5 separate regions of the Homo sapiens genome follow, and regions 1, 3, 4 and 5 are each linked to region 2. Evidence: promoter capture Hi-C in 16 types of primary human blood cells and fetal thymus (Javierre and others, 2016). All regions are on one chromosome and are shown on one strand. The core of a region is centred on a gene start or on the middle of the fragment in contact, and the rest is flanking DNA. Distances in the headings are between cores, read along the strand shown. Region 1 overlaps USP34 (ubiquitin specific peptidase 34). Region 2 holds the start of PPP4R3B (protein phosphatase 4 regulatory subunit 3B). Region 3 overlaps XPO1 (exportin 1). Region 4 holds the start of PAPOLG (poly(A) polymerase gamma). Region 5 holds the start of USP34 (ubiquitin specific peptidase 34).

Region 1 (4,008 bases), core at 770-3,269, 5.6 Mb before region 2:
TGACTGACCTTGAGTAATTTACTTATGACAGCTGCATACTTTAATAAGATATACACATATGCATATATATATATATATAATCTAAATTTTGTCCTATTTAAAAAATATATTGCTTTTTTCCATATAAATTATTAAAATGCACATTTAAATCTATGGAGTGTATCTGCTTAAAGACATACTACTTGTGTTTAAGAGCCATGACTATTTGAAAACAGGAAAACCAAATTTTAGTAAAATTTCCATATATTGAGACCACTGATTCTGTGTGAGATAATTAGGAAAGAAGATTTATTGTTTACCCTTGCAGTGTTTATGGGGGGAAAAGGTATTTACAGAATTACTGTTGCTAGCGAGAATATACAGTAAAGTTTAAAACATTTTGGAGAATTGATTTTGATTCTTAAAATGTGTCTTTTTGCAACATATGCTCTGGTTACCTATAAATACATTAATTTGGCCCTTGAAAACATTCACATCCTATTCTTTGTTAGCCTTATTTTTCCAGTCCTTGTTAACTCTCTCAGTGCTGGATAATAAACCTGCATTTCTTTTAAAACATTTGTTCAGTTTCGGCATCAGTGTCTTCCCCCAGCACTCCCTTAATCTAAATTAGTAACATTTTACTGTATGAAAAATAGTTGCTGTTAACTAAAAATTCAATAGGTGAGTTAGACATGGCTTTTCAAGTAGGATTTTCAGTGGCTTCAGATTCCATCATACACAAGTGTATGTTTTTTCTGTGTAAGTTTTTTCCGTGTAAGTTTTTTCCGTGCTCAACCGTAAGTGCTCAACCATCTTCTCCCCACTTTAGTCTGCTATGTCAAAAAACTGCATCAAGCTTTTGTGTGAAGATCCTGTTTTCGCAGAATATATTAAATGTATCCTAATGGATGAAAGAACTTTTTTAAACAACAACATTGTCTACACGTTCATGACACATTTCCTTCTAAAGGTACGTAGTACTTTGGAAACTCAGTGTGTCATTTCTAATTAGTTAATGCTTGTGGTTTCATTATGCTGGTCTTTTGGAGATTTTTTTAAATCTTCTTTTTCAGGTTCAAAGTCAAGTGTTTTCTGAAGCAAACTGTGCCAATTTGATCAGCACTCTTATTACAAACTTGATAAGCCAGTATCAGAACCTACAGTCTGATTTCTCCAACCGAGTTGAAATTTCCAAAGCAAGTGCTTCTTTAAATGGGGTAAGAACTATGCAGAGGCGGCGGCACACACTTTTAAACTGTCCTTCAGTTAACTGTGTGGCCTTCATATGATTTTACTCTCGTAACTTTAACTTACTGATTCAAACTCTTAAGCCATGTGCGACAAAAAAACAAGTTTTAAATACACGTTTACTATGCCTTGTATGTACACAGCACACTCTATCACCTTGGAAGCTACAAGCTGGTATCATTAAATGCTGAAAGGTAATAAAGGGAACATCTTAGTGGTCTTATCTCTAGTTGGGTATATTTTTGGAAACAATACTTGTGATGTTTCTATTACTGCCTATGGCTCCTATGTAACTGAAACAATTAATGATCTACTGATTTAAAAAAGGCAGTTAAATCTAGAGCATTAGTTGCCTTGTGCAGACTCCCATGACAGCCATGTCCTAGAATAATGGAACACTCTGGAAATGGGCTAGAATGTTGAGCAGCAGCCTCCCAAATCACAGTATGCATAAAAGCCAAAACAGATGACAGAGCTCAGTAAGGAAGACCTTACTATTTGTGACATCCATCAGAATTTTAACTTGAGAAACTGATTTCAAGGTTTGTTTTTAAAATTCTTATATTTCCTTTTCCATTTTTCAGAAAACACTATTTCAGGCTTTGGTCTGACTTACTGGTTCGTGGGCATAAAATAATGCTATTAGTGACTTTAAGAACTAATGAGGCTGGGCACGGTGGCTCATGCCTGCAATCCAAGCATTTTGGGAGGTCGAGGCCGGTGGATAACGAGGTCAGGAGATTGAGACCATCTCAATGGCCAACATGGTGAAACCCTGTCTCTACTAAAATAGAAAAAATTAAGCCAGGCGTGGTGGCGGGCGCCTGTAGTCCCAGCTACTTGGGAGGCTGAGGGAGGGGAATCGCTTGAACCCGGGTGGTGGAGGTTGCAGCGAGCCGAGATTACACCACTGCACTCCAGCCTTGCCAAAGAACAAGACTCCATCTCAAAAAAAACAAAAACAAAACAAAAAAAAAAAACAACTAATGAAATGCTGTAGTATCTTAACACTGGCTTTCTGGTTTTATCATTCTAAGAATCCCAGAGAAACCAGGGTATTCTTAGGAAAGAATGGATTCCTGGGAAAATAAACATCTGCAATTAACTGTAAACAACTGCATCAAAGTGTTGGCTTTAGAATTTGAAATGTTCCTATCTGGGTTTTTGTAGGACCTGAGGGCACTCGCTTTGCTCCTGTCAGTACACACTCCCAAACAGTTAAACCCAGCTCTAATTCCAACTCTGCAAGAGCTTTTAAGCAAATGCAGGACTTGTCTGCAACAGAGAAACTCACTCCAAGAGCAAGAAGCCAAAGAAAGAAAAACTAAAGGTTAGCTTTATGGACTACTATCATTACCTTTAGGGTGGGAGGAGGGAGTAATACACTTGGTGTAACTGGTTTAAGAGTTGTGTGTTCAGCTGAACCTCCTAAATATAAATGCTAGAAACAAAATTAACTTCCCACATCCCCCCCTAACGTGATCTTAATGACTTTCAGAGAAGTTTCCCTTTTGGCATGTGTTTTCACAGATGATGAAGGAGCAACTCCCATTAAAAGGCGGCGTGTTAGCAGTGATGAGGAGCACACTGTAGACAGCTGCATCAGTGACATGAAAACAGAAACCAGGGAGGTCCTGACCCCAACGAGCACTTCTGACAATGAGACCAGAGACTCCTCAATTATTGATCCAGGAACTGAGCAAGATCTTCCTTCCCCTGAAAATAGTTCTGTTAAAGAATACCGAATGGAAGTTCCATCTTCGTTTTCAGAAGACATGTCAAATATCAGGTCACAGCATGCAGAAGAACAGTCCAACAATGGTAGATATGACGATTGTAAAGAATTTAAAGACCTCCACTGTTCCAAGGATTCTACCCTAGCTGAGGAAGAATCTGAGTTCCCTTCTACTTCTATCTCTGCAGTTCTGTCTGACTTAGCTGACTTGAGAAGCTGTGATGGCCAAGCTTTGCCCTCCCAGGACCCTGAGGTTGCTTTATCTCTCAGTTGTGGCCATTCCAGAGGACTCTTTAGTCATATGCAGCAACATGACATTTTAGATACCCTGTGTAGGACCATTGAATCTACAATCCATGTCGTCACAAGGATATCTGGCAAAGGAAACCAAGCTGCTTCTTGACATTAGGTGTAGCATGTCTACTTTTAAGTCCCTCACCCCCAACCCCCATGCTGTTTGTATAAGTTTTGCTTATTTGTTTTTGTGCTTCAGTTTGTCCAGTGCTCTCTGCTTGAATGGCAAGATAGATTTATAGGCTTAATTCTTGGTCAGGCAGAACTCCAGATGAAAAAAACTTGCATCTTCAGTATACTTCCTAAAGGGCAATCAGATAATGGATATGTTTTATGTAATTAAGAGTTCACTTTAGTGGCTTTCATTTAATATGGCTGTCTGGGAAGAACAGGGTTGCCTAGCCCTGTACAATGTAATTTAAACTTACAGCATTTTTACTGTGTATGATATGGTGTCCTCTGTGCCAGTTTTGTACCTTATAGAGGCAGATTGCCTCCGATCGCTGTGGTTCTTATTATCAAAATTAAGTTTACTTGTATACGGAACAACCACAAGAAATTTGATTCTGTAAAGAATCCTCTTTAGCTGTGGCCTGGCAGTATATAAATGGTGCTTTATTTAACAGAATACCTGTGGAGGAAATAAAGCACACTTGATGTAAAAATAATTGTTTTATTTTTATTGACATGACTGATTGATTGATTGCTATTCTGTGCACTTAATTAAACTGATTGTGATGACTTTTCAT
Region 2 (3,944 bases), core at 65-2,564:
AGTTATGACTACAACTCCCAAGATGCACTGCAGGGTCAGTGTGCGCGTCTCGCCTAGTTTTCACCGATCAGGCTAATGAGCTGCACAGAAGTGGCAGCTGAACAAGCTGAGAGACTGTATTAAAGAACGAATATAGCGGGGATGGGGAGCAGGCGTCTACGGTCCCAGCTACTCGGGAGGCTGAGGTGAGAGGATCGCTTGAGCCCTCAAGGCGGAGGCTACAGTGAGTCGAGATAGCGCCATTGCACTCTAGCCTGGGAAGCAGAGAGAGACTATCAAAAACAACAAAACGAATAAAGGGATTCTACCAAGAGTGAGCTGGACTGAAATAAACGACACGCTACTACGACCCAGCGCGTGACTATATCCACCGCACAATGTGCGATAATAGCCTCAATGCAGAGAGAATTCCTCCTTTCCTTATTCAGTGCAAGAGAGCCCTATAGAGAACGCAGGAAATGCCCGCGAGAAACTGAGAAGTATCAAAACAATCACAGATATGTTAGGAAAGTAGCTCCCCGCCACTTCCCTAAACTTATCATAGCAGACTTACTTTCCAAGGTTACAAACACAAGAAGAGCACTGTATTTTCATGAAGCGGAAAATGTGCTTTACAATCGCCAGCTACTAAGAGCCTTAACGGTGAAGCGCTCTGCAAGAAACAGGAAATCGTCAACACACTTTCTGCATGAATTGCCTGGAGAGTTGTGTCCATAGACAATTCCTGGTTAGATGCTTAATTGTAGCAGACTCCATAACGGGGTTTAGCGGGTTTCCATTCGGCAGAAAGGGCTCCACGTTCTTTTTCACAGAAAGGTTTAAACTTATTTTTCCTCCTCAGGCGGACGAAGTGAGCGTCGTTCCGTGAAGGTATGAAACCCTTTTCCTTCCTTTCTGTCCCTGGTTACTCCGGTTCAAGGCTACGTACTTCCCCGGTTTGCTTTGTTTTTTCCTCAGAGCTAAGTTCCTAGGAACGTCACATACTGGTGCCATCCAACAACATGACGACGTGCGGAACCGAAGTCCCCTTCCACCTAGCGGCCTCTCGCGGCGCAGGCGTGGACGGGGAGATCGCGAGAACCTCCCGCCCAATTGCGACCCCGCGCCAAGAGGCGGGGCCGAAAGAGGAGGAAGTCGGGCCGAAAGAGGAGGAAGTCTCGCCGAAGTACTCCCGCCCCAGTCGGTACCCCTCCTCGCGAGAGCGCCGAGCATTCCGGCCTGGGAAGCGCGTGCAGAAGCGGAGGTGCTGCTCATGGGACTTGTCGGCCGCCGTAGCCCCTGCTAGGACAGCCCGTGCGAGCCTGCTGGAGGAGGAAGAGAAAGGCAGAGAGAGTCGGGTTACAAGATGGCGGATCTGTAGTAGTTACCGCGGCGGCGGGAGAGCAAGCGAGCCCTGGGGGGCAAAGAGACGGGAGAGTGGGTGTATGCGCGGGTGAAGTGAGAGGTAACGGGGCCTCCGGGCGGAGAGGCCTCAGTGGCTCTTGTCACCCCTTCTCGCGGCTGAACCTTTGGAGCCATGGTGAATTCGGGCCTCTCCGAAGCCGCCGCCGCCGCCACCGCCACTACTGCCTTTACCGTCTCCTAAGAGTGAGGAGCGCGGACGAGGTAAGCGAGGAGGCGGCGGCTAGAGCGGTGGAGACAGCAGCCACCATGTCGGATACGCGGCGGCGAGTGAAGGTCTATACCCTGAACGAAGACCGGCAATGGGACGACCGAGGCACCGGGCACGTCTCCTCCACTTACGTGGAGGAGCTCAAGGGGATGTCGCTGCTGGTTCGGGCAGAGTCCGACGGTAAGGTTATCGGAACTGTAGAATAGGGGATAGTGCCTCTGGTTGGGGCACAGCTTGGGTTTAGGGCCCTGGGCCCGTTACCGTTGCTACTCCTTCGGGACAGCGCGTTGGTTCTGAACTGGCTCTTGTGTACGGCAAAAACAAAGTACTGTACTTTTGACTGGACTTATCCTCGGAGACCGAGACTCTCTGTCCTTCTCCCATCTCTCTTAAGGATTGGACTCCTTCCTTTCCAGTCCCTCCTCTTTTGAAGAGGGGAGAGTGTGAGAGAGAAGGGAGGAAGTAGTGAGAGACTAGGTACTGATGTCGCCCTAGGAGCTGACACCTTCCTCCCCCTTTATTTACTTATCCATTATACGTCTAGTACAAACGGTTTAGGGAAACTTTTCTTTCCGAGTGTTTTTAAAAAAAAAAAATTGTACCAACGGGCCCCAGGTGCCACAGTCGACAGGTGCTGGGGAAAACCGAAAGGCACGTTTTCCTGGCTGTATTGCTGACTGTTGCCACGATACATGGACACACAAGCACATACATCTGTAGTCTGCATTTCTTCGGGCTGCCTTTGTAGAAGGCGCTATGAGAAAGTGAATGCCTTACAATCTAAGCAAGTTGGGACACCAAAGCAGGTTGTAAACTGCTGTGTTCTTTGGTTTATTGTAGTCATGTGAAGTATTTTAAATTACAAAATGTAGAGCCGTAATTAAAATGCCTTTTATAGTATAATCTGGACTTGATTTGAACAACTGATATAGGCAGTTAGAAAAATAATCTTAGGTTTAGTCTTGACATATTTTGTATTCTTGCTTGTTCCCTTTTATTTTAAATAGTCATCACTTCTACAGAAGGTGTTCTTTTGTTCTTAATGAGGAAAGGATAAATGCAGCACTGTAATTTCTATACTAAGTATTTAATCCCTGTCATGATGTTTTTGTTTTGTAATTTGCATTATTTGTTAAACTGGGAATGCAATAAAACAACTTTTGTTAAAACGAATGGCTTGAAGTGGTCATTTAGACCTTAAAATTTTTATTTCAATAAAATTTTAATAGTCATCTAGTCTCCTCATTCCTTGGTTTGATTGTTGGTTTTAGATTAATTTTTCCTTTAAGGGTGTATGGGAATAGGGTGAAATATTTTAGATTAAATGTGAAGCCTAGATTTGGAGAGAAAATGTGAATTCGAATACATTTTATTAAGATGTCCAACTCGGTAAAAAGACTTGAAAAGTTTGCGGGGGCGGGGGGCGGGGTTTAAATGTGTATTTTTTTTTTTTTTTTTTTTTTTTTGGAGACAGAGTCTTGCTCTGTTGCCAGGCTGGAGTTCAATGGCGCGATCTGGGCTACTGCAACCTCTGCCTCCTCTCCCTCTCTCTCAAGCGATTCTCCTGCCCCACCCTCCCGTGTACCTGGGACTACAGGCATGCGCCACCACGCCCAGCTAATTTTTGTATTTTTAGTAGAGACGGTTTCACCATGTTGGCTGGAATGGTCTGGATCTCTTGACCTCGTGATCTGCCCGCCTCCCAAAGTGCTAGGATTACAGACGTGAGCCACTGCGCCCGGCTTTAATGTGTATTCTAATTTTTATTCAGGGTTTTATCATTTGAGACTTATGATGTATTATTTTTTATCTTTCAGGATCACTACTCTTGGAATCAAAGATAAATCCAAATACTGCATATCAGAAACAACAGGCAAGTAGTTGTTTATCTTTAATTTGAAAGACTTCATCTGTGATCAAGGAAGTATTAATCTGACAAAGGTGGGAAAGCTTTCCTGACAAGAAAAAAACATGTTTGGTAAACAAAGATCATGTGTATTTCTCTTGCAGGTTAAAAGTTTCAGACTGAAAAAAAGTTTTTGTACTGGTGATAATTATCATTTTTGGATTGAGCCACTGTCGGTTTATTCTAAGATGTATTTATTAGTATTATTTAACTGTAGTTAGCCAAGTCTCTTCTATACCTTGTACATGAAACCTTTTATTCTGAGTCACGTTTAAAGGAAATGACATAGAACAAAATTCAAAGGGATACTCTTAAAGCAAGGAAAGCCTGTTTGTGGTGTGAAATTAAATCCTTTGACTCAAGTAAAGGTAGAGGTTTTGAAGTAGAAGCATTAAATCCTGCTCTTTAATTGTTGTGTATTTTTAA
Region 3 (3,846 bases), core at 633-3,132, 5.9 Mb before region 2:
GGAGTGCAGTGGCGCTATCTCAGCTCACTGCAACCCCTGCCTCCTGGGTTCAAGCGATTGTCTTGCCTCAGCCTCCCTGGTAGCTGGGATTACAGGCACACGCCACCATGCCTGGCTAATTTTTGTATTTTTAGTAGAGATGGGGTTTCACCGTGTTGGCCAGGCTGGTCTTGGAACTCCTGACCTCAGGTGATCCACCTGACTCGGCCTCCCAAAGTGCTGGGATTACAGGCATGAGCCACCGCGTGCTGGCCCAAACATGTTTTTGAATGAGTAAAAAGTTTTGCAGTTGGGTCAGAAATCTTTTTTTTTTTTCAGATGGAGTCTTGCTCTGTCACCAGGCCTGAGTGCAGTGGCACAGTCTCGGCTCACTGCAACCTCTGCCTCCCAGGTTTTCAAGCAATTCACCTGCCTTAGCCTCCCGAGTAGCTGGGACTACAGACGCGCCACCATGCCCAGCTAATTTTTTGTATTTTAGTAGAGATGGGTTTCATCATATTGGCCAGGATGGTCTCCATCTCCTGACCTCGTGATCCGCCTGCCTTGGCCTCCCAAAGTGTGGAGATGACAGGCATGAGCCACCGCGCCTGGCCAGAAATCTTTTATGGTAGTTTTGTTGCCAGAACAGTAGATTTCTGGTTAGATAAATGTTCAGCTAGTAGATGGGAGGTTACTTATATTGTCAAGATATTTATATTTGCATAATTAAGAAACTGAGTGCCGGCCGGGCGCGGTGGCTCACGCCTGTAATCCCAGCACTTTGAGAGGCCGACGCCGGCGGATGACGAGGTCAGGAGATCGAGACCATCCTGGCTAACACGGTGAAACCCCGTCTCTACTAAAAACACAAAAAATTAGCCAGGCGTGGTGGCGGGCGCCTGTAGTCCCAGCTACTCGGGAGGCTGAGGCAGGAGAATGGCGTGAACCCGGGAGGCGGAGCTTGCAGTGAGCCGAGGTTGCGCCACTGCACTCCAGCCTGGGCAACGGCATGAGACTTCGTCTCAAAAATAAAAATAAATAAATAAAATAAAATAAAAAAACCTAAACCTGAGTGCCATTACACTTTCTGAAAATATATAAGGTGGATACAGTACTATCTTTTATAGTAGTCCAAAAAGCATCATGTATAAATGTTTCCATTCCCTTATGAAATGCAACAGTACTGCTTTTACTATAGTAGAAACTTGAAAAAGGTCCATGGAAACGCTAAAAGTAGAAAAAATTACTCTTGCAGTGATTCTGTAAGCTTGTTAGCCCAGGTTTATACTTTTAGGGCGTTTTGATCAGTATATTATCTCCTAAAGCATTCTTGAAAAAATTAACCATCCGTATTTATTATCCCTGTCATTTAGTTGTTACTCATGCTATACATTCAACATGAAGCTTTAAGCTTCATTTCTTCTAGCATGGATGCATAGAAAGCAGCTGCTTTTGGAGGAAGCTATGAAAGTAAGGTTGGGTTCAACTCTGAATGTAATATTGGAAGCACAGGTCTGTAGCCATTGGGAAAAAGGGCATTTAATTTTTTCCGCATAGATTCAGCTACTAATACTGTTTAATCTTCACACTAAACTAGTTCACTACATCTAAAGGTATGATAAATAAACCAACATAGAGCAGTGTTCTTCATGGCTTGTAACAGAATTAGTGGCAATTTTTGTAATTGAGAATATATTACAGCAATACTGCTTTTAATAATGTTTCATAGTATTAAGAAATTTAATGGTTTGTTTTAAAATTGACTTGTTAATAAAAAGTAGATTAAGAAAAGTGTTTCTAAATTTTTTTGTTTGTAAGGACAATAGGTTAACTTTCCCAAAGTAAAAGGATTTTGTCTGCAGTAGTTAATAGATCATGTGACAAAATCAGTTGCGTAGAAATAACTAGCAAACTTATTTTGTATTATAAATGAAGAAACAAGATTTAGAGCTTAAAGCTGGTTAAGGAGTCCTTTTGGTCTCTAAAAGTCCTATGTCGTTAGTTCAGTCTACTTTTCGTTTACCACCTCCTTGGGGGTCTTATTTCAAAGGAAAAGGAGTAGTAGTAGCAGCGAGCTGCTATAGTGGAAAACATGATTTTTAGTGTTAGACGTCTTAATTTGATTCTTGGAAGCTCTCTCTAGTCATTGCTTAAGTCCCATGTACAAATATGACCTGTCCTACAAGAGATTGGAGGGTTAGTTATGAGGTTTAAAAGCACCTATTACAGTGCTTGATAGGTAGAAGGCACTCAGCTTAAAGGGTACATTTAGCAGTATAATGAAAATGATTTAGCATATGTGATACTCATTGCTTAAAATTAAAAAAATTTTTTTTTTGCTACTCATAAAATATGCACTAATGACAAGAAAAATTTATTATGCTAATTAAGCTTTTAAAGTCAACTGGGAAAAAAAGCTGTAGGTAGGTTTTTTTTTTTTTAAAGGAATGTGTAACTTGGGGGAGGGGAAGAAATTATTTACAAGGGTGACTTTTAATCTGTAGACAGAACTTCTGCATACATGGTTAGTATAGTAGGATATTTAGCAGTGTAACATTAGGACTACCCTCTACCCTCTGTTATCAGCATTTTTCTATTTTTAGCCAAGTAGACAGCTAGAAAAAAGATGCGGGAAGAGTTGGATGTTTTCTCCAATATTGTGTTCTGTTAAAGATCTTGAACTCTATTGCTTAGCAACTAAAATGCTTTCACCATTCAGTTAGTAGTACAAGGGAGATGCTAGGTTTTCTCTCTTTAGTTTGCTTTTGTGTCTTTTTTTTTTAAACCCCTGCTGGGGTTTTAAGTTTATAAAGAACATTATGTAAGAATGGTGGGATTAGAATAAATCAGAATGCAAATACTAGAAGTAGCATCAGAGAGTAAAATTACAACTAACAGGAAAGAATATTATTTATGTAGCGATTGATGTGAGTGGTGATAGTGTGGGAAGTATTTGATTCTGTGTAGAATGCTTATCACTTCAAAGCATCTGACAAAATGGTAACTTGACCAAGTAACTTTTACTGTGTGAGGATCTTTGATACAACTTTTCCTCTAGTTAGATAAGGTTATCTAGCTAGATATTCTCAGGGAGAAGACCAAAACACTGCTAAAATGTGCTTTGGCCCTAGATAAGCCACATCATTATTCTTTCGGCCTTCTGTCATTTCTCATATGACACATTATGCCCATCAGTCCTTTAATGAAATCAAATAGAAATGTGTATGATTGTATTTTAAAGTATACACATTAACTCTTGTAACCACAGACTCACAATGGAAGCAGGCGTCTGATCTTTTCAGGCAACCACAGTGGTTCTGGTGGGTTTCTGGGTAGAGAACAACCATATAAGTTATTGAGTGTGTAGCAGTGTGTTTTCCTGATTGATGTATGGGATAGTCATGAATGTGGTATTGTATTTCCTACCTGAGGAAAAGGTCATGATTAAAATAAAGCATCAAAGCCAGGATAAGCATATAATTTCTTTCTTTTTTTTTTTTTTTGTAATGAGACAGAGTCTCACTCTGTAGCCCAGGCTGGAGTGCAGTGGTGTGATCTCAAATCACTGCAACCTCCGCCTTCCGGGTCCTGGTTCAAGCAATTCTCCTGCCTCAGCCTCCTGAGTAACTGGGATTACAAGTACGCCCCACCATGCCCAGCTAATTTTTGAATTTTTAGTAGAGACGGGGTTTCACCATGTTGGCCAGGCTGGTCTTGAACTTCTGACCTCGTGATCCACCCACCTTGGCCACCCAAAGTGTTGGGATTACAGGCGTGAGCCACGGTGCCCACCCGAGCATACGATTGTTTTAAAAAAGACTAGAATAAAAGCCAAGCTAAAGATTATAAGGTATCTTTGTCAGAAAT
Region 4 (3,862 bases), core at 58-2,557, 5.1 Mb before region 2:
TACTATGTTGTGCTAAAGAAGTTACAGAATTCCAAGTGTGATACGAGTTATATAAAGTTTAAAAACAACTAGAACTATGCCAGTTATTATGAACACATGTGTATGTAGTAATAGCATTAAAAAACATGCAGCTCCCATGATTCGAGGGCGGAAAAAAAAGAAGTAAAATAAAAAACAGGCAGCAACGATAAACATCAAATTCAAGACTGTGGAGACATCTGGAGCAAGAGATGATTGGGACCAGAGAAGGAGGTAGGAGAGTCCTTCAGATGTATCTGGAATGCTTGATTTCTTTTTAAAATAAATACACAGATACGTATATACACACCGTGTGTGTGCGTGTGTGCATGTACGTGTATGTGTGTACAGTTACGTTTTGGGAGAAATGGGTGGTGGCTCCACAAATGATGCTTATGTTATTCTCTACATTTTTCTGCATGTTTAAATTATTTCCTAATAGACCAAAATGGAAGAAGCTACAACAAAATCTTGCCAAGTACGGGAACTGTTTCTGACTTATCAAAGTGTGAACAAGAGGTACAGACCGGTAGATGTTGTGGGTAGGTGGGGAAGCAGGGGGTGAGGGAGAGGGTGGGGACGGCGGTGAAAAGACTGTAGCCTCATATGAAAGAGAAACCCTTGGGCTGCGATAGGTCTTTCACTCCTGAAGACCTGGAGACAGCCGGTCGGGAAGGGAGGAGGGGGAGGCAGGGGGATGGTATTTGCGCCAATGCAGACAGGAGCAGACGGGCTCAGACAGTGCTGGGGGCAGGCGAGTGACCGACAATTTCTCCCTACGGACACAGGCACCTCTTTCCCTCCTCATCCTTTTCTGAGGGCGTCCTCGGAGGCGGGACAGCTGGGGACTCCCGGAGTCCCCGAGTCCGTGCAGGGGTGGCCAGGTGAGCCGCCGGGTTTAGGGGAGGTGCCCTTGCGGACCGGCCGGGAGCCGGGAAGGAGACCATCCCGGCGAGCTGCGTGCAGGGCGCAAGGGACAGGGAACGGAAACAAGGACACAGTCGGACCACCTCAGCTCACCCCTACCCGCCTCACCCCAACCGCCGCCCCCCACCACTTACGCAGACATCTCTTTCATCGCTTCCTGCGTCTCCCTCTCCAGCGAGTGTTTATCGCTCTGGAGTCCTGTTCTTGCTGTTCCCTTCTCCCCCTGTTCACTTTCCTCCGGTCGCTAGTAGCTCGCTTGCTCGCTCACTTTCCCACTTACTATGGCTGAGGCATCCAACCGAGTAGTGAAAACACCACAAAACCGGCTCTATTTATGACAATACAGCGCGGCCGACGCCAATATGGCGCCGCTTCCCAGCCTGCCTCTCGCAGGTCTCAGCCCCGCCCCTGGAGGTCTGGACCACCCTCAGCCACGCCCCCTCTGCCTTTAGGTCCCGGGAGGCTCCGGGGCCCCGCCCACAAGCTCAGGGCTCTCAGTATACCGTTGGTTCGAAGGAGTATTTATTTGGTACTCTCCTTTGTCCGCGGTACTGTCAATGCCGGTAGACCGCTTGGAAGGAAATTTGGAGATATGTTTTCCTTGCCTCTCGAATGGCAGCATATATCATACATTTTTTAAAAAGGTCACACCCTTGCCTAGCAAAAACTATTTCAACGCCTCCGTTATCCTACATCTTTGATTTAATTATAGTTATACATAATTAACTCACCAGTTGAGATTTTGTCTCGAAAGGGTCACACCCAGGAACATACGACTTTCACACAAGTATCCCAGGGAAAAACAAGCTTGTAAATTGGAGGCTTAACTGTTCACTTCACCCCTAAGTACCACCTTTGATTAGTGACATTCTGGCATTTAGCTGACAGAGGTTGAAAATAGTAGCTAGCAGTTTGCAATAGGATAAATCCCAGGCTGAAACAAAAATCTTACACTTTTAAATAGTGGAAATCATGTTCGATGTGAGTGTGGGGATGAAAATGAGAAAATAATAACCAATTTTAAAATGCTGAAAGGTAGAAGTAATTTCAAGCACTAAATCATTACAAAGAAAAGGAAGTCAAGAACTGCTTGCTCTTGAACATAACTCAGAGTCACAGTAAATAGAGGAGATTACTTGCTGATTAATTCATTAAAAAATATTTATTGAGGCAAGATACAGTGGCTCACACCTGTAATCCCAGCACTTTGGGAGGCCAAGGTGGGAGAATTGCTTGAGGCCAGGAGTTCGAGAACAGCCTGGGCAACATAGTGAGACCCTGTCACTACAAAAAGTTTTAAAAAAATTAGCTGGGCATGGTGGCCCATGCCTGTAGTCCCAGCTACTCAGGAGGCTGGGGTGGGAGGATCTCTTTGAGTCCAGGACGTGGAGGCTGCAGGAAACCAGGATGGCACCACTGCATTCCAGCCAGAGTGATAGAAGGAGACCCTGTCTCAAAAAAATAAATAAATAAATAAATAAATAAAAACTACAAAACATATTTTTGAAAACCTGAGCAAGGTGCAGTGGCTCTTGCCTGCAATCCCAGTGCTTTGTGACGCCAAGGCTGGTGGATCACTTGAGGCCATGAGTTCTATTAAGACCAGCCTGGCCAACATGGCAAAAACCCATCTCTACTTAAAAGCAACAACAAAAACCTGACGTGGCCTGGTGTGGTGGATCACACCTGTAATCCTAACATTTTGGGAGGCTGAGGCGGGTGGATCACTTGAGGTCAGGAGTTCGAGACCAGCCTGGCCAACATGGTGAAACCCCATCTCTACTAAAAATAGAAAAACTAGCTGGGTGCGTGGTGCGCCTGTGATCCCGGCTACTCAGCAGGGTGAGGCAGGAGAATTGCGTGAACCCGAGAGGCAGAGGTTTTTTTGAGATGGAGTCTCGCTCTGTTGCCCAGGCTGGGGTGCAGTGGCGTGATCTCTGCTCAGCCTCCTGAGTAGGTGGGATTACAGGCATGCACCACCACGTCCAGCTATATTTTTGTATTTTTAGTACAGACGGGGTTTCACCATGTGGGCCAGCTAGTCTCAAACTCCTGACATCAGGTAATCCGCCCACCTCGGCTTCCCAAAGTGCTAGGATTACAGATGTGAGCCACCACACCCAGCCAAGCAGTGTTTTATTATTTATTTATTTATTTATTTTTGAGATGGAGTCTTGCTCTGTCACCTAGGCTGCAGCACAGTGGCATGATCTTGGCTCACTGCATCCTCTGCCTCCTGGGTTCAAATGATTCTCCTGTCTCAGCCTCCCGAGTAGCTGGGACTACAGGCGTGCGCCACCACGCCTGGCTAATTTTTTGTATTTTAGAGATGGACTTTCACCATGTTGGCCGCACATCTCAGCCTCCCAAAGTGCTGGGATTACAGGCGTGAGCCACCGCTTCCAGCCTAATTTTTGTATTTTTAGTACAGACAGGGTTTCACCATATTGGTCAGGCTAGTCTTGAACTCCTGACCTCGTGATCCGCCAGCCTCAGCCTCCCAAAGTGCTGGGATTACAGGCGTGAGCCACCATGCCCGGCCACGGTGTTTTAATCAATTGCTTTTCTTCCCATTTTCCTGTCTTTGTTAATCTACCTGGGATTTAATGACAGTCCCTAACCCCCATCTCAATAAGGATACTGTATTTTTCCCAACCCCAATTTCAATAAGGACATTTTTCTTATTTGCAGTGTATATTGTAACTGTATTTGTTAAGTTAAAAATTTTCAAATGACAAAACTAACCCATGCGCATAAAAAAAAAGAGCGGACGTCTGTCCCTCCTTTCCATCTCTTGCCCAGGCTGGAGTGCAGTGATGTGATCTCAGCTCACTGCAACCTCCACCTTCCGGTTTCGAGTGATTCCCCTGCCTCAGCCTCCTGAGTAGCTGGGTTTACAGGTGCCCGCCACTATGCC
Region 5 (4,228 bases), core at 430-2,929, 5.9 Mb before region 2:
ATGATGGTTGGTTTCAACTGCTACCTGAAAAAACGTGAGACCAGCACGTTGGCTCATACCTGTAATCCTAACATTTTGGGCCGGAGGATCAGTTGAGGCCAGGAGTTTGAGACCAGCCTGGGTAACATAGCAAGACCCTGTCCCTACTAAAAATAAAAAACAATTAGTTACGTGTGGTGGAGAGCGCCTGTAGCCCCAGCTACTAGGGAAGTGGGAGGATCCCTTGAGCCCATAAAGTGGAGGCTGTAGTGAACTGTGATCGCACCACTGCACTCTAACCTTGGCGACAGAGTGAGACTTTGTCTCAAAAAAAAAAAATTCAAATAAAAATAATTGGGGTTGTGTTGGCAGGGAAAAAAGGGATACGTGGGAATGTATGTTGAGTGGACAACGAATGTCTGCCTCAGGATCCAAAGTAAGTCTGCAAAAACCCAATTCTGTGAGAAAGACAAGGAAGAAGGGAAGATGATGGTAGAATAGAACTACAATCCTAAGGATCACCTGCTAGTGGGAAACAAAACGGGTTGGGCAGACTGTTTATAGTATCAACTTCAAGCAGCAGAAAGGCAAAGCATTTGGAACCAGGTGGTTCTGGCATGGAGAGATGGGCGTGCCATAACCTCCACAAAAGCTATCGAGAGAATGACTACAGAGCCTTGACAGACACTCTGGTTACCGTTCAGAGATTCTGTACACGATCTTTCGGACTTTGCAGTCACATGTCTATGTAAACACGTTGAACACAAAAATTAGCAAGCAAGGGGTAAGTGCCGGCGTGAGGAAAATTCCCTTACAAGCTTCAGCTGACTGCCCCCTTCACCTGTTCTTTATCTTAATATCCTTGTTATTCGCTCTCTGCTGAAGAAGATTTCTTGCTATTTCAGGTGGGGCTGATGGGCACATCGTGAGGGGCCCTCTTCCGTAAAAACGAGACGATGTCAGGCAAACACTCCTTACCCTGCCATTTCTAGTTACGTCAAGGATCTTACTGCTCCAGGACGGAGGACCTTCAAGGAACTGCAGGGTAGCGATAATCACCGATGCAGTTAAGCCGGGCCCTGGGCTGATTCACTCTCAGACCCCGGGGGGAGTGGCCCTTGCGCCCGAAAGAGGGCTACGGCGTAGACCCGGCCCGGCACCCAAGTTGACTCCTTGCTTCCCGTACCCCAAAAGCCTAAGCGCGGAAGAGGCCGGGGACACCAAAGAAACCCGCACCAACTCCCCGACCCAGGCCCTGGGGAAAAATGGCGAAGCCCAGGGGCGGGGGACAGGACGGAGCGAGTGACCTGGCGCTCCCCGGGCCTCAGAGCCCGTGGAGTGGGTCGTGGTGGGCGACGCCACGCAACCGCGACCCGTCCGTTGCCTCCGCCATCTTCTCCTACTCACCCGGACTCCCCCCGCGGCCGCGCTGGCTTCGCGTTTCCCTTCCGGCCGCTGACAGAGATCCGGGCTGGGCGGGGTGGGCGAGCGCGCGGAGGGGGTGGACCGAGGGCGGGGAGGCCGGACGGAAGAGGAAAGGGAGGGCGGCGAGCCGGCCACGGCGGGGTGTGGAGCGTGCGGCGTGTGTGCGGAGGGAGAGGTGGGGGGCGGAGGAGAGGCGAGAAAGGGAGGGAGGCGGAGGAATGAGAGCGCGAGGCGCCTCTCGTCCGCTCCTAAGCCCGGGCGGAAAGAGCCGAGCGCAGCCCGAGCGCTCTGTTAAAATGGCGGCGGCGTCGGCGGTGGCCGCGGCGTCTGGTCGGTGAAGTGACTCTGCTGCTTCTCTCCCCACCCGCCCCCTCCCCCCCTCTCCCCTCCCCCCGTCCTTCCCCCCCTTCCCCGCCGCCGGCGCCTCGGCGCCCCTCCGGCCTGCGCACCTCCCCTCGCTCCCCTCCTCTCCCCCTCCCGCTGCGGGGACCGCCGGCCCCCTCCCCCATTCTCTTGCTCCCCGCCCCGTCCCCGCCGCCGCCCGCCCTAGTCGCCTCCCCGCCCCGCCGGCCGGCCGGCCCCCTCCTCCGCCTCTCTCCCCTCCCCCCCGCCGGTCGGGATCAGTCAGTGTGATCCGAAGCGGGGGAGGGGGGGGGCGGCGGCCGAACGATGTGCGAGAACTGCGCAGACCTGGTGGAGGTGTTAAATGAAAGTAAGTAGCCGCGGTAGCGGCCTGTCGGGGTGCACGGTTTGGGGTCCTCGCGCAGCTCTCTGGCCTCCCCGGGCTGCCGCGGCCTGCGGGAGGCGACGGCCGGGCCGGGCGGCGTGCGGGCCTAGCGCCCCGGGAAGGTGCGCGGTGGCGCGGCCGCCGCGGCGCCTCGGGCCCAGCCCGGCCGGGTTACCTGGGCGCCCGAGAGGCGGCCGCCGCGGAGCTCCGGCTCGGCCTGGCCCGGGCGCTCTGGGCTCTCGGAAAGTTTCCTCATTACAGGTGTCAATTAATGAAGGCAGTAATGAACCCCTCGCCGCCTTCGCCTCCTTCGCCCTGCCGGGAAGGTGCGGGGAGGTGGGGTCGGAGGACGAGGCTTTCCTCCGCAGTCCAAATCCTCCGGCCGCCCTCTTTGATTTCCAGCGTGCTGCCGAGGCCTCTCTTACCTGCTAATTTTCATTAAACTCCCGGGAGCAGGGTGGTGGTTTTTCCCTCCCTTGCGGGTTTGTGGGTGTCTTAAACACTTCAGCCAGACCTTAAATAGCTGAAAACGAACTGTGATAGTGATGATTGGAACCTTCATACCTATTTTTAAAATAAATTTGTTAATGATGTTTCTTAGTGTAGCATTCACCGCTTTAATGGTACATTCTGTTAAGCAGAGCACTGTACTACACATACCATCCCGGGATAGTTATGGCCTATCTCTCTTGGAAGGAAAGGCCTTTTACCTGGTACTTTACTTTTTATTATTAAAAAGGGTACGTTGATCTTTTCTGGCCTTTTTATTTTATTCTCGACCCTTGCAAGATGGTATTTCAGCTTATAGAAGATATATTGCAAATCAACTACTTCTGGGCGTAAAGGCCTAGTTGGCAGAGGTGAATTAGATGAAGGGATCAATTTACAAAAAGTTGATTGTTGAAAAAATGCTCACTTATGAACAGTTTATGTGGGTTTTGGATTTGTATTCTGTTTGTGATATTTCCACAGACTTTCAGACTATCTAATTTTGTAATACAATTCGCTAAAACAGTTGATTTATAAAATGTACCATGGTATTTGTGTTTGACTGTCACTTTAATGACCAAAGACAATAATAAAAGTGGAAGGGTTCTAACTTAATTTCAACTCCGTATTTACTTCCTGATAGGTGGAATAGGCTTTTGCACATATTCCAACTAGAGGTTCCAGTATTTGTGTCACCCTAAATTATCCTAGAATTTTAAGATTATTTGTGTGTATTTTGAGATACTTTTATTTCTGGCGCAGGCGGTTTACGATATGATAAACTTAAATCCTCAATACTTACTGTGTTTTATATCTCACATACAAGTCGTGTGATTATGATTGTTACGCTCAACTTGGAAAGTTAATCGTTTTGCAATGTAATATGAGGAACAAGTACTTAATTTTGTTGGTGATTTTAAATATCTTTTTTTTTTCTTGAGACAGAGTTTTGCTCTTGTTGCCCAAGCTGGAGGGCAATGGCATGATCTCGGCTCACTGCAAACTCTGCCTCCCAGGTTCAAGCGATTCTCCTGCCTCAGCCTCCCAAGTAGCTGGAAATGTAGGTTCCCCACACCATGCCCGGCTGATTTTTGTATTTTTGGTAGAGACGGGGTTTCACCATGTTGGTCAGGCTGGTCTTGAGCTCCTGACCTTGTGATCCGCCTGCCTCGGCCTCCCAAAGTGCTGGGATTACAGGCGTGAGCCACTGCGCCTGGCTGATTTTAAAATATCTTAAACTTGGAAAATTTTAAACAAAACATCTAAAGAAAGTAAAGTTGGTTTATCTTTTGAAAAGAGGTGGCATCTTGATCATAATGAAAGGTCTTATTTAAGATTATCTGGGAAACCCCTAGAACTTTGGTTAGAAGCACTGAAAAATGCAGTGCATTTATGGAGTGTTAGAAATGTGGAGAATTGAAATAGAATTTAGCTTTTATTACCTTTAAGCAAATACAGTTAGTTCAACCAGCTTCTCAAAATCTGGTCATGTGCACCCTCTAAGAAACCTGTTCTAATGAACAAGTAAGGATTTTCTATTTGTGTGTAAGCCAGTGGACTCTAAAAATACTTAGTTTCTTAATATTGCCTTTGAGGCTCAATTTAAAA

Evidence for each region. Contacts are between HindIII fragments. The CHiCAGO score rates a contact against its expected background, and 5 or more counts as called.
Region 1: a contact is called between a fragment that was not itself captured here and the fragment with the promoter of PPP4R3B in region 2, in 1 of 17 cell types (monocytes). The highest score is 5.9, in monocytes.
Region 3: a contact is called between a fragment that was not itself captured here and the fragment with the promoter of PPP4R3B in region 2, in 2 of 17 cell types (monocytes and fetal thymus). The highest score is 5.9, in monocytes.
Region 4: the fragment with the promoter of PAPOLG here is called in contact with the fragment with the promoter of PPP4R3B in region 2 in 1 of 17 cell types (activated CD4 T cells); the score reaches 7.4 in activated CD4 T cells.
Region 5: the fragment with the promoter of USP34 here is called in contact with the fragment with the promoter of PPP4R3B in region 2 in 1 of 17 cell types (monocytes); the score reaches 6.1 in monocytes.

Annotation. Positions count from the first base shown.
Region 1 is chr2:61,187,462-61,191,469 of GRCh38, reverse strand. It overlaps USP34 (ubiquitin specific peptidase 34), which reads left to right. Exons shown (of 80, transcript NM_014709.4): 77 at 812-952; 78 at 1,056-1,199; 79 at 2,401-2,560; 80 at 2,761-4,007. The coding sequence ends at 3,368. It also overlaps the pseudogene AHSA2P. Among named protein-coding and RNA genes, the nearest start is that of C2orf74-AS1, 11 kb to the right of the region's middle. The HindIII fragment of the contact is 2,357 bases long and covers 841-3,197 here.
Region 2 is chr2:55,614,992-55,618,935 of GRCh38, reverse strand. It overlaps PPP4R3B (protein phosphatase 4 regulatory subunit 3B), which reads left to right and starts at 1,314. Exons shown (of 17, transcript NM_001122964.3): 1 at 1,314-1,792; 2 at 3,430-3,485. The coding sequence starts at 1,651. PPP4R3B-DT (PPP4R3B divergent transcript) reads right to left here and starts at 1,006. Exons shown (of 3, transcript NR_186624.1): 1 at 554-1,006. RefSeq lists enhancers at 944-993, 1,014-1,413, 507-1,431, 1,432-2,358. The HindIII fragment of the contact is 10,945 bases long and covers 1-3,564 here.
Region 3 is chr2:61,529,303-61,533,148 of GRCh38, reverse strand. The region is part of intron 2 of XPO1 (exportin 1); the gene reads left to right. Among named protein-coding and RNA genes, the nearest start is that of XPO1, 7.1 kb to the left of the region's middle. The HindIII fragment of the contact is 980 bases long and covers 1,393-2,372 here.
Region 4 is chr2:60,753,713-60,757,574 of GRCh38, reverse strand. It overlaps PAPOLG (poly(A) polymerase gamma), which reads right to left and starts at 1,307. Exons shown (of 22, transcript NM_022894.4): 1 at 1,080-1,307. The coding sequence starts at 1,096. RefSeq lists an enhancer at 1,082-1,391. The HindIII fragment of the contact is 3,911 bases long and covers 1-1,754 here.
Region 5 is chr2:61,468,538-61,472,765 of GRCh38, reverse strand. It overlaps USP34 (ubiquitin specific peptidase 34), which reads left to right and starts at 1,679. Exons shown (of 80, transcript NM_014709.4): 1 at 1,679-2,116. The coding sequence starts at 2,074. It overlaps USP34-DT (USP34 divergent transcript), which reads right to left and starts at 1,670. Exons shown (of 3, transcript NR_185882.1): 1 at 1,387-1,670. RefSeq lists silencers at 1,428-1,737, 1,768-1,847, 1,938-2,357. The HindIII fragment of the contact is 6,929 bases long and covers 800-4,228 here.